Linked DNA regions of Homo sapiens: region 2 is linked to region 1. Evidence: promoter capture Hi-C in human tissues and cell types (Jung and others, 2019). All regions are on one chromosome and are shown on one strand. Each heading gives the region's core, a stretch centred on a gene start or on the middle of the fragment in contact. The rest is flanking DNA. Distances are from core to core; before and after follow the strand shown. Region 1 holds the start of LDHD (lactate dehydrogenase D). Region 2 has its middle 27 kb from the start of CTRB2.

The links. Contacts are between HindIII fragments. The study calls those that stand out against the background at their distance.
Region 2: a fragment that was not itself captured here is called in contact with the fragment with the promoter of LDHD in region 1 in 1 of the 25 tissues and cell types used here (heart left ventricle).

What each region holds. Positions count from the first base shown.
Region 1 is chr16:75,114,975-75,119,043 of GRCh38, reverse strand. It overlaps LDHD (lactate dehydrogenase D), which reads left to right and starts at 2,264. Exons shown (of 11, transcript NM_194436.3): 1 at 2,264-2,395; 2 at 3,384-3,496; 3 at 3,705-3,846. The coding sequence starts at 2,324. It also overlaps a transcript of ZFP1 not described here. RefSeq lists an enhancer at 2,739-3,033. The HindIII fragment of the contact is 8,282 bases long and covers 1-4,069 here.
Region 2 is chr16:75,177,954-75,181,548 of GRCh38, reverse strand. No RefSeq gene overlaps it. Among named protein-coding and RNA genes, the nearest start is that of CTRB2, 27 kb to the left of the region's middle. The HindIII fragment of the contact is 3,256 bases long and covers 224-3,479 here.

The DNA.
Region 1 (4,069 bases), core at 1,015-3,514:
CGTCACTCAACATACGTAAGATGAACATTGTTTGGGTCTGGAAAGACAGGGAGGGGGCTTCCCGGTCATAGGTAGATAAGAGACAAATGTTTGCATTCTTTTGAGTTTCTAATTATCCTCTCAAAAGGAGGCAATCAGATATGCATTTAGCTCAGTGATCAGAGGGGTGACTTTGAAAGAATGGGAGGCAGGTTTGCCTTAAGCAGTTCCCAGCTTGACTTTTCCCTTTAGCTTAGTAATTTTGGGGGCTCAAGATATTTCCCTTTCAGACCTCTTCAGTAGAATTCTTTCTTCTGATGAGGCAAGCATTGAGTTTTATGTAGACCTGTATGGATTTCCCACCACTCACATGAAGACCATGACCTGTGACACATTCCCTGGAGGTCCTGAGAACATGTACCCAAGGCAGTTGAGTTACAACTGGTTTTATACAGTTTAGGGAGGCATCAGACAGTAATCAATATAAGCAGGGTATGCATTGGTTCCTTCTGATTGAGGGAGGAGCTTACAGGTCATAGGTGAATTCAAAGACTTTTCTGATTGGCGCTGGGCACGGTGGCTCACACTTGTAATCCCAGCATTTTGGGGAGCCAAGGCGGGTGGATCACTTGAGGTCAGGAGTTCGAGACCAGCCTGGACCAACATGGTGAAACCCTGTCTCTATTAAAAATACAAAAATTAGCTGGGCATGGTGGCACTCCTGTAATCCCAGCTACTTGGGAGGCTGAGGCATGAGAACAGCTTGAACCCAGGAGATGGAGGTTGTAGTGAGCTGAGATCACGCCACTGCCTGAGCAACAGAGTGAGACTCCATCTCAAAAAAAAAAAAAAATTTCTGATTTTCAATTGGTTGAAAGAAGTTATTATCCAAAGACTTGGAATCTTGGTATACAACAACAAAATTTTTTTTAAATAAAAAATTTTAAAAAAGACAACCTGGAATCAATAGAAATAAGCATCTGGGTTAAGATAAGGAGTTGTGGAGACCAAGGTTCTTTTTTTTTGAGACAGAGTCTCGCTCTGTCGCCAGGCTGGAGTGCCGTGGTGCGATCTCAGCTCACTGCAACCTCCACCTCCTGGGTTCAAGCGATTCTCCTGCCTCAGCCTCCCAAGTAGCTGAGACTACAGGCGTGTACCACCATGCCCAGCTAATTTTTGTATTTTTAGTAGAAACGGGGTTTCACCATGTTGGCCAAGAGGGTCTCTATCTCTTGACCTCGTGATCCTCCCACTTTGGCCTCCCAAAGTGCTGGCATTACAGATGTGAGCCGCTGCACCCGGCCCAAGGTTCTTATTATGTAACATAGATGGTAAATGTCTAAGGCGTTAAAAGGTGCCAGACTCTTAGTTAAATCTCCCTTAGATCAGGATAAAACCTGGAAAGAGGCTGGACGCGGTGGCTCATGCCTGTAATCCCAGCACTTTGGGAGGCCAAGGCAGGTGGATCACGAGGTCAGGAGTTCAAGACCAGCCTGGCCAAGATGGTGAAACCCTGTCTCTACTAAAAATAGAAAAATTATCTGGGCACAGTGGCAGGCACCTGTAATCCCAGCTACTTGGGAGGCTGAGGCAGGAGAATCGCTTGAACCCAGTGGGTGGAGGTTGCAGCACGCTACTGCACTCCAGCCTGGGCCACAGAGTGACTCTGTCTCAAAACAAAACAAAACAAAACAAAAAACCTGGAAAGGGGAGGGGATTCTCTACAGATTCTAGATTTTCCCCACAAAAGACAGCTTTTTGGAGCTATTTAAAAAAAAAATCAGAGGAATATATTTTGGGGGTAAAATACATTGATTTCTTTCAGGGCCTGCTATCTGTCAGGTGATGCTAGAGTCAGGTTGGAATTTGGTATCTTATTGCTACAAAGAGTCTGTTTTGTGTCTTAAGATCAGAATGCCTTAAGGTCTCTGTTTTAATGTTAATGCTGGTCAGTTGTGTCTGAATTCTAAAGGAAGGAGGGGGATAATGAGGCTTGTCCTAAACCTCTTCCCATCACAGCCTGAATTAATTTTTCAGGTTTATTTTGGAATGCCCTGGGCTGAGAGGGAGGTCCATTCAGTCGGTTGGGAGGCTTAGAATTTTATTTTTGCCTTACAGTTTCCCAAAACGTCCAGTGAACCTCGCCTCTCCTTTAGAAGTGTCGTCCCTGGAGCCCACGAAAATGTCTGCAAGATCTGCAAGGGCCACCTTAAAGCCCGTGCCACCTTAAGCAGGCCCCACCCCTGGCCTAGCCAATGGGCTGACAGCAGCAGTAGCTGCTGCCACAGTAGCTGACTGGTCACCCTGCCACCCAGTGCTCACACCCTCTGGCCAGTGCCTGGCTATGGCCCGACTGCTCAGGTCTGCAACCTGGGAGCTGTTCCCCTGGAGGGGCTACTGCTCCCAGAAGGCAAAGGTACCGGGAGAGAAGAGAAGTCCTCTGGAGGGATGAGGTGGGGAGCGGGGAGCAGGGGGTTCTGATCCCAAGTTTCCTGGGCTCTGTGACGCCCCAGCACCAAGTGACCTGACCTTGGGCAAAAGGGCACTGGGCTTACCCTGTGGCAACTGTGGGTGGGTGTAGAGTGAGATCAGCTGAGTCCCCACTGCTACCATGAGTGGGGCTGGGGGAGTCAAATGGATGCCCCTGGAATAAAACACACCTGTGGAAGAAGGCCCTGAAGGAAAGGGCCTGGGTTCCAGGCCAGGCTCTGTCCTTAACTTGGCCTCCATTTCTCATCTGTAAAATGGGAAGAAACACATCCCCCGCCCCGCCGCGCCCCGCCCCCCACGAAGGGCCCAGAAGCCCCAGGCAACGTAGAGTGGGGAGGGGGCAGTGGAAGCTTTTCCTCCCCCTAATTCCCTTATCAAGCTCTGAGTTCCCTGTGGCTGGGGTGGTGCTTGGTTGGCCCTGGAGAAAGGAGGAAGTGAGGGATCTTTTCGGTTGCTCAGGCTGGGCTGGCTATTGAAGGAACCCTGCTGATAGCCTTTTTGGAGAGTGAATTCTGGTTTTTTATTTGGATGGCTGGGCGCTGTGGCTCACGCCTGTAACCCCAGCACTTTGGGAGGCCGAGGCAGGTGGATCGCTTGAGCCCAGGAGTTTGAAACCATCCTGGGCAACATAGTAAGACCCTGTTTTTATTAAAAAAGAAAACATTAAAAAAATTCTGGTGGCGTTTTTTTCTGAGGGGAAACTTTGACCCCCAATGGCTCTGTTTGGAAAAGAGGCATTTCTGGATAGTGGGTTTGTTTAAAGTGGGCCCACCTGGCAAGGATGTTGTCAGCGGGGCGGGCGCAGGGGAGGCTCACTCCAGCCTCCAGCCCCCAGCCCTCCCCCCGACACTGGGGCAGGGCTGTGGCCCCATGTGTCTTTCGGGGGACCCTGGCAGTGTGTTTCTTCCCTGCAGGGAGAGCTCTGCAGGGACTTCGTAGAGGCTCTGAAGGCCGTGGTGGGCGGCTCCCACGTGTCCACTGCCGCGGTGGTCCGAGAGCAGCACGGGCGCGATGAGTCGGTGCACAGGTATGGGAGGGTTCGCGGGCCCCTCCCCTGTCTTCTGGATTCAACCCCAGCTGAGAGAGAGGGTGCTGGGTTGCCTTCCTCCTCACTCATCTGTTTTGGGGTGCTCTGGCATGTTCTCTGCCCCTCGCTTGCTGTAGCCTCAGGCCCTGCAACACCTCGGGACCAGAGGGTGTCACGCCCCGCTAAATCGCTGAGGGTCTGGTTCTAGGTGCGAACCTCCTGATGCTGTGGTGTGGCCCCAGAACGTGGAGCAGGTCAGCCGGCTGGCAGCCCTGTGCTATCGCCAAGGTGTGCCCATCATCCCATTCGGCACCGGCACCGGGCTTGAGGGTGGCGTCTGTGCTGTGCAGGTACAGTGGGGCTCCCTCGCCCGGCCCGAGGATGGTCCCAGCACACCTTGGCACACCTGTGGCTGCCTCCCCCGCCACACACGGCACCTTGGGTCTGCTCCCGCCCGTGGGCTGCCTGCCTCTGGGGGTCTGGTCTGGCTGCTGGGGGGACACCCGCGGGGTGTGGTCCGGGGACGTGGCCAGGTCAGAGACCCAGGTCTGCAGTGGTCTTAGCACCTGCCCC
Region 2 (3,595 bases), core at 602-3,101, 63 kb before region 1:
ATATAATTGGAATTTTGATAGGCATTGCATTGAACCTGTAGATTGCTTTGGACAGTGTGAACATTTTAACAATATTCCTCCAATCCAGGAACACAGGATAGTTTTCCATTTAATTGTATCTTCAGTTTCTTTTATCTGCGTCTTACAGTTTTTGGTGTACCAGTCTTTCATCTCCTTGGTTAAATTTATTCCTAAGTATTTAACTTTGTGTAGCCATTGTAAATGGGATTGTCTTACTGACTTCTTGTATAGATAGGTCATTGTTTATATAAAACACTACTGATTTTTGTACGTTGATTTTTGTATCCTGCAACTTCATTCATTCATTAGTCCTGAAAGTTTTCTGGTGGACTCTTTAAGGTTTTCTATATGAGATCATAGCATCTGCAAACATGGACAATTTACCTTCTTTCTTTCCCGTCTGGAAGCCTCATTTTTTTCTCTTGCCTAACTGTTCTGGCTAGGACTTCCAATACTGTGTTGAATAGAAGTAGTGAGAGTGGACATTCTTGTCTTGTTCCTGATAGTAGATGAAAAGCTTTCTCTTTTTTTTTTTTTTTTTTTTTTTTTTTTGACACAGACTCACTCTGTTGCCCAGGCTGGAGTGCAGTGGCTCCATCTTGGCTCACTGCAACCTCTGCCTCCCAGGTTCAAGCAATTCTCCTGCCTCAGTCTCCCAAGTAGCTGGAATTACAGGGCTGCACCACCACACCTGGCTAATTTTTGTATTTTTAGTAGAGACAGGGTTCCGCCATGTTGGCCAGGCTGGTATTGAACTCCTAACCTCAAGTGATCCGCCTGCCTTGGACTCCCAAGGGACTGGGATTACAGGTGTTAGCCACTGTGCCCAGCCAGATAAAAAGCTTCCAACTGTTCACTATTAAGTATGTTAGCTGTGGGCTTGTCATATATGGCCTGCCTTGTGCTGAGGTACATTCTTTCTATATCTATTTTGAGAGTTTTTATTATGAAAAGATGTTGAGTTTTGTCAAATGCTTTTTCTGCATCTATTAAGGTGATCAGAATAGATTTTGTCCTTCATACTGTTAATGTGGTAGATCACATTTATAGACTTGTGTATGTTGAAACATCCTTACATCCCTGGGATAGATCCCACTTGATCATAGTGAATTGTCTTTCAATGTGCTGTTGAATTTGGTTTGCTGGTATTTTGTTGAGGGTTTTTGCATCTATGTTCATCAGGGATACTGGCCTGTAATTTTTTTTTTTCTTCCAGTGCCCTTGTCTGGCTTTGGTATCAGGGTAATGCTGGCTTCATAAAATAAGTTTGAAGGTGTTCCCCCTTGTTCAATTTTTTTGGATGAGTTTGAAAAGAATTGGTATTAGTTCTTTAAATGTTAAGTAGAACTCAGTACTGACACCATTAAGTCCTGCGCTTTTCTTTGATGGATTTGTAATTCAGCCTCTTACTGAGTTTGTTGTTGATGTTGTTTTTGAAATGGAGTCTCATTCTGTCACCCAGGCTAGAGTGCAATGGCACAATCTTGGCTCACTGCAACCTCTGCCTCCCGGGTTCAAATGATTCTCCCTGCCTCAGTCTCCCAAGTAGCTGGGATTACAGATGCCCGCCACCATGCCCGGCTAATTTTTGTATTTTTGGTAGAGACAGGGTTTCGTCATGTTGGCCAGGCTGGTCTTGAACTCCTGACCTCAGGTAATCCGCCTACCTCAGCCTCCCAAAGTGCTGGGATTACAGGCATGAGCCACTGTGCCTGGCCTTTTCCCCACCCACCCCCCCTACCCGAGTCTCACTCTATTGCCCAGACTGGAGTGCAGTGTGCGATCTCGGTTCACTGCAACCTCTGCCTCCTGGGTTCAAGCAATTCTCCTGCCTCAGCCTCCAAAGTAGGGGGGATTACAGTTGCCCGCCACCACGCCTGGCTAATTTTTGTATTTTTAGTAGTGATGGGGTTTCACCATCTTGCCCAGGCTGGTCTCAAACTCCTGACCTCAAGTAATCCACCCGCCTCGGCCTCCCAAAGTGCTGGGATTGCAGGCGTGAGTCACCACGCCCAGCCTATTGGTTTTTCTGTTTCTTCATGATTCAGTGTTGGTAGTTTGTATGTGTTTAGGAATTTATCCGTTTCTTCTAGGTTCTCTAATTTGTTGATGTATAATTGTTCATGGTATTCTAATCCTTCGTATTTCTGTGGTATCAGTTGTAACACTTCAGCTTTCATTTCTGATTTTGAGTTGTCTTTTTTCTTACTCTACCTAAAAGTTTTCCAATTTTATCTTAAAAAATTCTTAAGGTTTTTTTCCTGTTGTCTTTTTCTAAGAAATGAATGAATAAATCCATGAATAATTTATTTCTGTTCTGATATTTTCTTCTAACTTTGGGCTGCTTTTTCTAGTTCTTTGAGGTATAGCATTATTTGTTCTCTTTTGATATAGGCATTTATTGCTATAAACATCTCTTAGAACTGCTTTTAGTGAATCCTATAAATTTTTTTTTTTTTTTTTTTGAGATGCAGTCTCCCTCTGTTACCCAGGCCGGAGTGCAGTGGTGCGATCTCAGCTCACTGCATGAATCCCATAAATTTTGGTATGTTGTGTTTCTGTTTTCATTAGTCTCAAGACTTTTTTTTTTTTTTTTTTTTTTTTTTTTGGAGACCAAGTCTCACTCTGTCACCCAGGCTGGAGTGCAGTGGCGCGATGTTGGCTCACTACAACCTCTGCCTCCCATGTTCAAGCAATTCTCCTGTCTCAGCCTCCCAACTAGCTGGGATTACAGGCATGTGTCAGGCACGCCGGGCAATTTTTTGTACTTTTTTATTTTTTAGTAGAGATGAAGTTTCACCGTGTTAGCCAGGATGGTCTCTATCTCCTGACCTCGTGATCCACCCGCCTCAGCCTCCCAAAGTGCTGGGATAACAAGCGTGAGCCACCGCGCCCAGCCTGTCTCAAGATGTTTTTAAATTTCTTATCTGACCCACTGATTAGGAGCATGTTGTTTAATTTCCACATATTCGTGCATTTTTCAAAATTCTTCCTATTACTGATTTCTATTTTTATACCACTGTGGTAGGAAAAAAATACTTGATATAATCTTAAATTTAAGATTTGTTTTGTGGCCTAATATACATCCTATCCTAGAGAAGTTCCTTGTGTGCTTGAGAAGAATGTGTATGCTGCTGCTATTGGATGGAAATTCTGTGTATGTCTCTTAGGTCCATTTGGTCTAAGCTGTAGTTTACATCTCCTTACTGATTCTGTCTGGATGATCTGTCTGTTGCTGAAAGTAGGGTATTGAAGTCTTCTACTGATATTATGTTACAGTCTCTCTCTCTCCCTTCAGGTCTATTAATATTTGCTTTATATATTTAGGTGCTCAGATGTTGAATGTATATAAATTTAGAGGTATATCTTCTTGATAAATTGACACGTTTGTCATATAATGACCTTTGTGTCACAATTTTTGACTTAAAATCTAGTTTATCTGATTTAAGTATAGCTATCCCTACTCTTTCGGTTTCCATTTCCATGGAATACTTTTTCCATCCTTTCACTTTCAGTATATATATGACCTTAAAGGTGAAGTGAGTTTCTTATAGGCAGCATATAAATGGGTCTT